2 separate regions of the Homo sapiens genome follow, and region 1 is linked to region 2. The links are contacts of gene promoters, found by promoter capture Hi-C in blood cells and fetal thymus (Javierre and others, 2016). All regions are on one chromosome and are shown on one strand. The core of a region is centred on a gene start or on the middle of the fragment in contact, and the rest is flanking DNA. Distances in the headings are between cores, read along the strand shown.

Region 1 (4,623 bases), core at 310-2,809, 250 kb before region 2:
TAATTGAATGCTTTATTTGTGCAATTTTCTTATTTCTGTTTAATCATAGATAATATTACTATATCTTTGTGTACTCCAAAATAGTATTGGTTCTTGTCCAGTTACAAATATTTTTGATTAATGTATTTGCTTTTTAAAATGCTTTAAATTTCTCGCTGTTTAATGTTATATTTGATTAGACAAAAATGGCCATTTTATAACATATATACAAATCATTAAGCATAATGTAATGGCACACATAAATCCATCCCTCAACCAGGAAACTGGATTTTTATCAACCATTTTTTTCTACGTATGTTTTCCTCTTCTCTTCCACCTACCTTCCAACCCCACCAGAGATAATGTCTATCCTGAATTGTGCATTTCTCACTACCTTACTTTTTAATAATACAATACTTTCTAATAATATGATAGATATAGATGCAGAAATAATGTATTGTTTAGTTTTGCTTATTTTAAGCTTTATAACATATCAAACTGCATTTAGTGTTCTGGGACTTGCTTTTATCTTTCAATATTATATTTCTAAGCTTCATCTCTGCTGTTGCAATGGCTATAATTATTTAAGTTTTCGTTAAGTAAAATATATTATCTTGTATAAATAAATATTCCCAGTGAATTTGTCTATTATCCTGTCAATAGTTATTTGGATTTTTCATTACTATTGTCAAATGTTCTGCTATAAATATGTCTCTGGTGCAGATTCATGGGAGTTTACTACGGTCTATAGGTAGGAGTAGAATTAGCAGGTTCTGGGATGTGCATGTTTTCAACTTTACCAGATAGGATGAATTCTGCTAGCAATGTATATATATTTTCAAATATATGTATGAGGATATGACTCATATCCTCACTCATATTTTAAATATTCAGAGTTCTAAATTTTTGCCAATCAAGAGAGTATAAAGCTATATCTTTTTATCTTAATTTTCAGTTTCCTAAAGACTAATAAGTTTAGGCATTTCTCCATGTATTTAATGGTCATGCCTTTTGTTTTCTTCTGTGAAATATCTGTTCAACTCATTTGCCCATTTTGCTTATTTTTCTAAATATATATATTTAAAAAATATAATCTAGATACTAGTCCATAGTCATAATATATGTTGCTAATATATTCTTCACATTTGTGACTTTTCACTTTTTATAGAGTGTATTTTGAAGAATAGAAGTTCTTAATTTATCAAGTTTTCTTTAATTTTATCACACCTTGGTAGAAATTTGGTATGTCTAAAAATTAGTAGAAATTCTAATGTACACGTTGAAAAAAACACCTTAATCAGTATATTGAAAAAATAGAAATGGCAAATATCAATCATATTAGAATATATCTCTGTGTGTGTGTGTATCAACTACATTTTTAAGAGCTTTCATTAGACTTAAGAGTTATATGATATGAGCACAGCCATTAGAATGCCCCTCACACACATTTCAACTAAAAAGAAAAATGTTCATATAGAAAGAAATAGGAAACAGTAGCAGCACTAGGAACTGAGAAAGAGAAATATAAGGAAACCAAAATTTCTAGTTATGAGTATAGTATAGGCAAGACCACACTGAATGAAGACTTATGGTTAACTCACAATCCACTTTCAGAAAGAATATTGTTATCTTTTGTGAAAAGTGTATTCTCACTAAGCCATTGTGTACTGAAACTCAGAACTGGGAAGCCTTTTCTATTGTACTCTCTCTCCCTGTTTCTCTCTCTGTCTCTGTCTGTCTCTCTCTCTTTCTGTCTCTTCCTCTCTCCTTCTTTTTCTTTCTCTTTTTTCATCTTTTTCTTCCTCCTTATTGCTTCTCTTTGTCCCTTTGGCTCACTTGCTCTTCTTACTAACACACCCTCTCATCATCATCATATGCACAGAATTCACCATAAAGTTTCACGTTGAAAACTCATGGTTGCTTTAAAATTTTCTCCCTTCACATTGGTTTTCCATTTAAATTTTTATTGTCTGTTCCTCAAAATTTTGGCTTACAAGTAGATTTGGGTTAATATTAACTTCACTTGTTTTAAGTTGATTTTTTCACCTAGGATTTTTTAAAATCCATTTTACTTATTTCAAATTTTTAAGATGGGAATATGAGTAGCCAATGGTCATCTGAAGGACTGCCCTTTCTGAAGTGGTTGTCTACCTGTGATTCACATAGCTGTTGATTAGAGAAGGTGGACTAGCATATTACAATCATGGACGACTAGGTCTTCTCCTCCTGCAAGGCCTATTGTTGAATGTATTTAAAACATCTGAGGATATAAATACTCAAAAGTATTTAATGCTGTAGATTTTATTGAGTAGAAAATTATTATGTCAACCTTACAAGATGTTTTCAATTATTAAGTATATAAAACATCTCCTTCAAAAATGTGAGGTGGACTCCTCAGATACAGATTATTTTGAAACTGACTAGCCAAGGGACTTTCTTTCATTCTGCGTGCACAACAGCAAACCTTACCTTTTCTGTGGTTTATATTGGTGGGAATTGCATAGAAAGAAAAAATTCTTTCCCTTCTTTTAATTTTCACATTACAATGCAAAGCAAAACTATGCTGCAATGTGGTCTCTAGTTCCCTATCATGAAAAATTAAAGCTTCTCACTTCAAATTTTCTCATTTTTATTTTCTCTCTACTATAAGTTCTAATAACAACATTTAAACTAAATGATCATCATCCATCTCACCTACTTATATTATTTCTGCCTTCTAATCTTTGCCATCTCTAATGTATGTTTCTGTCTTTCTTGCAGATGGAACAGATTTGGAGTTGAGGCTGGTCAATGGAGACGGTCCCTGCTCTGGGACAGTGGAGGTGAAATTCCAGGGACAGTGGGGGACTGTGTGTGATGATGGGTGGAACACTACTGCCTCAACTGTCGTGTGCAAACAGCTTGGATGTCCATTTTCTTTCGCCATGTTTCGTTTTGGACAAGCCGTGACTAGACATGGAAAAATTTGGCTTGATGATGTTTCCTGTTATGGAAATGAGTCAGCTCTCTGGGAATGTCAACACCGGGAATGGGGAAGCCATAACTGTTATCATGGAGAAGATGTTGGTGTGAACTGTTATGGTAAGAGTCTAACTAGAGTAGGAAGGCAAGGTAAGACCTACCCTCAGGAATCATCTGCTGGAAGGTAGGGGTTTCTATTATGACTTTAATAGTGTCCCTCTGGGAGGTGTAGGAAATATTTTATATATTCTACCCTTCCCTTATTTCCAAAGTAATGTCTAATTGCTTTTCTTTTTATAACTATAACTGAGTTTAGAAAGAAATGGAGAGAGAAAGAGAGAGACAGAGAGAGAATGCATTACAGTTACCAATGTAATATCTTTATCATAACTATAATTGAGTTTAGAAAGAAATGAAGAAGTTTGGGAGCAGGGTTAGCTTTGATTTAAGTGCCTTTTTTCATGTACCAGGTACACTAACAGAACAAATATTTTCTGAAAAATGAGGTATAAAATTAAAGCAAAATGATAAAGAATATCATGCTAATGATTGATTTTTTCACCTAGGATTTTTTTTGTTTGTGTATTTGTGTTTAGAAAAAAGCCTCACATACCCCTCCTATAAGTATTTTCAGTTATTTTTTTTTAATTTTTGGTAACTTCATTCATAACAGGGCTGTCTTCTACGTATCCTTTTGATTTTATTTCAGGCTCAAAGTTGAATCAGTTTTTCATATGTCTGCTTGTCTTTCTCGTAGGTGAAGCCAATCTGGGTTTGAGGCTAGTGGATGGAAACAACTCCTGTTCAGGGAGAGTGGAGGTGAAATTCCAAGAAAGGTGGGGAACTATATGTGATGATGGGTGGAACTTGAATACTGCTGCCGTGGTGTGCAGGCAACTAGGATGTCCATCTTCTTTTATTTCTTCTGGAGTTGTTAATAGCCCTGCTGTATTGCGCCCCATTTGGCTGGATGACATTTTATGCCAGGGGAATGAGTTGGCACTCTGGAATTGCAGACATCGTGGATGGGGAAATCATGACTGCAGTCACAATGAGGATGTCACATTAACTTGTTATGGTAAGAACCCAAGACATCATGTAGAAGAAAGGAACAATTTGTTTAGAAACAGTATGTATGGAAAGAAAAAGGTCAATCATTCTCTGGAGAAGAATTTTCTCTGGTTATAACACATTTTTGTTACCCTGAAATTGCTCCATTCTGGAGTTTTCCTAAACACTCTTCCTAAAACTGCTCTTCCTAACAAATCTAAAGCACATTTTGAGTTTTAATATTTCTGATCACTCAGCAGTATTCCATAGGCCGATCAAATCTTTTTTCTAAAAACCTTTTTCAAATAACTTCTTGACACAATATCATATTTTTCCCTTCTTTCTCTGAGGTCACTCATTCTTAGTCTAGTTTCCCCACTTTACTAATTCTTTCCAGCTACCAAAACTTAGATTTCATCAGGACTAAGTCCCTAATCTCACGCTGCCCTCTTTCCTTTGGCAATTTACTTTCCTAGCTTCAACTAAAATTCCACACCAGACACCTCCTAAGAGCTCTAGATACATATATCCGTGTGCTACGAAGGGTCCAAAATGTACCCGAACCTTAATGTTTCCAAAAGTAAGCTTCTTATACCTGTTTACTCATCATCTAATCTTCCTAAGCTCAGTAAA
Region 2 (4,204 bases), core at 1,411-3,910:
GATCAAATCCCAACTCTACCACTGACAAAGCTGTGTAACCTTGGGCACACTTCACCTCTAAGCCTCAATTTTCTTATCTTTAAACTAGGTCTAAAAACAGTAACTACCTCTAGGGTTCTCATGGAGAGTAAGTAGATAATGCATTCAAAGCATGTAACACAAGGCCTAGAACGTAACTATTGTTATTAATTTTTATTATCATCATCATGGTATGGTCTTTACCTTCTAAAGCCATACACTTCAGGCACTGGAACTTCACAATAACACTCTGAAGGCCCCAATTCTGTTCCAAATAACTTAAGGCCAGAATCCCAGGTGCTGTAGTGAATACTCTCTTCCTCGGCAACACTGCCATCCATCCAATCTGTAGATCCTCTCCACTAAACCACAGTGATAAAGTAAAAAGGCCAACCAAACTCTTCGTTCTCTCTATCCAAAATCTCTTATCCAGTACAAACCCAGTCCTCTCTTTAATATACATTACATTCCGTTATCACCTAAGGGAAATTGAGTTCAGTACCCTACCCCTCTAGAAATGAGTCATGAGACCAGAAAAATCGTAATCACACTATAACGTGAACAGGGGAAGGGTATAGAATTCTGTCCCATAGAAGCCAATATAGATTTTCCCATAACAAGTTTCACCTGTAACTTCAGAGATGAATTCTTGGGACCAGTCAGTCTCATTATAATCCTGAGTTACATCCACAGCATCTCCAGCTGCAAGAAACTCCTGGGCCCAGTTCTCAGACAAGGCCAAGTCTGCCACACCAGGGGCTTAAAAGAGAGAGAGAGAAAACTAAGAAAGAATACATACATACCATTCCATCATGCCTAAAGAACCCTGAATCCACGTGAAAACACTCTGTTACTTTTGTCTCCTTCTGCATCTCAGGTCCCCAATGCCAGCAGCATCCAATGGAACCCCCTTCCTTGGCCCTGGCTACATGGAAAACGATCTCCCCTCCCACTAGACTCTGGACTCACCTCTCTGGGGAGCCTGGCGGAAGTTTGACTGCTCAATCTGCTGCATCTCAGCCAGGAGGTCATCCATCTTGAAGGTCTGAGGGGCACGGGACACAAGGGGTGCATTCTGGTCCTGCAGGAATTCAGCCACCAACTGCCAGAAGGGAAATGATGAAATGAACCCATAGGCTTGGGAGGCCCCAGCAAGAGGCAGGACCCACTGGAGGGGGATCCCAATGTTAGATACAAGGAAAGGAAAACACAGAAACTGGAGACACATAAAGAGAAACTGTCTTTCCATAGATTTAGAAGGACGAAAAAATACATTTAAAAACAAGCAGGCATTCTCATTCGGTCAGGAAAGCCCAAAAATTGAAATACGGGTGAACTAAGTTTAAAGGTAAAAACACAGTGGGCAAGAGAAAAATGGGACAGAAAAGAGACTGGTCTATTTACCTCATCTTCAGAAGCTACTCCCAAAGGCTTGGAGGCCTAAGAGAGAAAGACAGAGATGTACAATGACGCAGTTCCTCTAAAATCAGGGGTTGATGAAGCCCATAGGCATCTGAGCCTCGGCTTCTTCATCTATAAAATGGTTGCATTTATTTAAAGGTGCACAGGGTTTTCTAGTGTTTATAAACGCTCAGTAAGTGGTAACTACTATGATTTGCAACACAATAGAGAAAGCAGTTATACCAAGATGTGCAAACAGCCCCTCCACCTCAGACCACCACCACCTGGGCTTTCCACCTCAAGAACACTCACTGCCTCAGAGGCTGCACCTGGGCTTTCCACCTCAAGAACACTCACTGCCTCAGAGGCTGCACCTGGGCTTTCCACCTCAAGAACACTCACTGCCTCAGAGGCCGGGGCTCCGGGGGGCCAGGGGCCAGGCCTCAATCCCTCCTGCCGAAGGGCCTTGTCCTGGGTGAAGTGCCCGGCGAGCTTCATGAGCGGGTTGGCACCCCCGCATTCGGCCTCCACCAGCTCCCGCATTGCCATGGTGACCGCCAGCTCTCTGATGGACACAGGAGGTTTGGAACTGAGGTACCCAAGCCAGACCCTTCTCACATCCACAACTCTGCCCGTATCTGAGGAAGGCACACAGGCGTCTGCCCCACACTGGCCGCCCTCCACCCCAGTGCTTTTGCTGCGACCCCCACCTCTGCCAGGAGTTCGAGGGAGGTCGGTACTCTCTCCTGCCGCCCCCCTCAAAGGCCACCGCTTCCAGCCTGCGCCTCTGCAGAGGCCTCCGCGACTACGGTCCCATGGGCTGGGGGCCAGCAGCTGCCTCCACAAAGGGGCCTGGACCCCGGGGGACCACGGGGACGCTTCAACAACCAGGCTGGACGGCGACACTGCCCGAAGAAGGGACAGTGGGAAAACAGCCCGACCATACCTAGCCCCGCGCAGCCCCAGCACGCGGTGAGCACGGCAGAGGAGCATTCCCTCCCCTTAAGTCACCGGAGCCCTTCCCCCGGCTCGGCCCGGTCCCTCCCGCGCTCCCCACCGCCCATCTCCCCGGCCCTGCTGCCGCTCCAGCCCCGCCCCTGGGACCCGCGAGGCCACCGCAAGGGTGGGGAGGGCCCAGGGACGCGGCCCCGGGCCCCCTCGGGGTCAGGCGCTCACCGCGGAGCGCCGCGCCGCACGACCCGCCGGGGCACCAGGTGCTGGCTTGGGGGAGGGGAGAAGAGGGGGCGGGGAGCCAGGGGGCGGGGCTCAGGCTTAAAGGGGCCGTGACCGCCCCGCAGCGGCCCAGGCCCAGCGGAAGCTGTCTGAAAAGGCGGGGCCTTAAGACTGCGACGCAGCCTGACGGGAAGAGCCGTGAGTCTTAAAGGGGAAGAGCACCTTAGAGAGCGGGTCTTGGAGAGTCGCCTTTAGGAGCGCTCGAAAAGGCCACGGGCCCTAGGATTTGTTTGACGGAAAGCTCAAAGAAGAGTGGAGCTAAGAAGGGCTTCCCAGGCTCTGGGGGAAAGCCGAAGACGCGAGATCCTAGGCTCAGTCGATCCTGCCTCTTCCCTTGGGCGCATTGTGACCTAAGGGGATTCAGTGCCCTTTCTGAGCCTCAGTTTTCCCCTCTAAAATGGGGCTGGCTAATGTTCCCAAGCCCAAGAAAGAGAAAAGCCCTAACACCAGGGGCTGGGGAGTCCAGTCCGAAGCCTTCTTCAGCCTCCTAGGCCTGCCCCGCTTCCAAATAACCCCTAGCGGGGTAGCGTCACTGTCTCCATGGAGACAGGGGCCCGCCCCCGCCTTAATCCCTCTCCACCTCTGCATAATGGGGAAAATAGCACTGCATGATGACAAATTCCGGAGACCAAAATAGGGTCCAACGCATCCTGAGACCTCGAGCTGGTAACGTACAGGGAAGGTGAACAGTGAGTCAGCCCTTCCTTCCGCTAAGTCAACATAGTGGCCTTATTCCCATCACTCCAGGCTGGGAAAGGACAAACATACAAGAAATGCTTTTAATCACGGAATAAGACTAAGCCTCAAGCCCCCTCATCTGCCAAAGAGTGTGCTCTGCTGTCAAACCTCAAAGTCATTGAGAAACAAACCCTGATAATCTCACCCAGCTTCAAGACCAAGGGAGTCCTAGTGTCATGGAGAAGAGCAAGGAGGGGCCCAGGGCTGCCGGTAAATGACCAAGGGCAATAATGCCAGACGAACAGAAGTACCATCCCAGCCCAGGGTGCATGAGCGGAGGCAGGCAGGCAGCAGGTGGCGCCATGGGCCGGGCTTGTTTCCTGGCTGTTCTGCAGATTTCAGAGGTGGAGGCCTCAGGGGGCCACAGGGAATGTCTGTGTAAACTCATCCCTGGGAAGACAGAGAAGCTGCTCTGACACCTCAGGGGAACAGAATGGCAGGGGACAGACCATAAGACTGTGCAACATTTCTCCTTTTCCTTGCCTTTTCGCCCTCTTTCAGAGGCCCCACTTCTACACCCCGTTTTCTTCCGGAGCACACAAATCCCAGCCCTTGGGCGTCCCCTGTTCTCAGGCTGCCATCGTGAGGAAAATACCTGATAAACTAAACCACACAAGGATGAAGAGATGCCCTCCAGAAGGTGCATACTTTTAAAAAGAGGACCCCCTAGAGAGAGCAATGTTTAAAGGAACCCATCTGATACAGTAGAATTTCAGAACCTCAAGGCAACCAGAGTTTCCCAGTACCACTTAAACATCACAACACACATAACCTTCTGCTCTGCTAGGAGTTTATCAACTGATTAGCCGTAACT

The links. Contacts are between HindIII fragments. The CHiCAGO score rates a contact against its expected background, and 5 or more counts as called.
Region 1: a contact is called between a fragment that was not itself captured here and the fragment with the promoter of PEX5 in region 2, in 1 of 17 cell types (erythroblasts). The highest score is 6.6, in erythroblasts.

Annotation. Positions count from the first base shown.
Region 1 is chr12:7,431,811-7,436,433 of GRCh38, reverse strand. It overlaps CD163L1 (CD163 molecule like 1), which reads left to right. Exons shown (of 20, transcript NM_174941.6): 3 at 2,740-3,060; 4 at 3,698-4,018. Among named protein-coding and RNA genes, the nearest start is that of CD163L1, 10 kb to the left of the region's middle. The HindIII fragment of the contact is 2,053 bases long and covers 533-2,585 here.
Region 2 is chr12:7,188,142-7,192,345 of GRCh38, reverse strand. It overlaps PEX5 (peroxisomal biogenesis factor 5), which reads right to left and starts at 2,660. Exons shown (of 16, transcript NM_001351132.2): 1 at 2,596-2,660; 2 at 1,822-1,984; 3 at 1,423-1,458; 4 at 988-1,120; 5 at 646-777. The coding sequence starts at 1,968. RefSeq lists enhancers at 1,834-1,913, 1,371-2,086, 1,944-2,093, 2,087-2,803, 2,804-2,863 and 2 more and silencers at 2,284-2,693, 3,714-3,763. The HindIII fragment of the contact is 37,708 bases long and covers 1-4,204 here.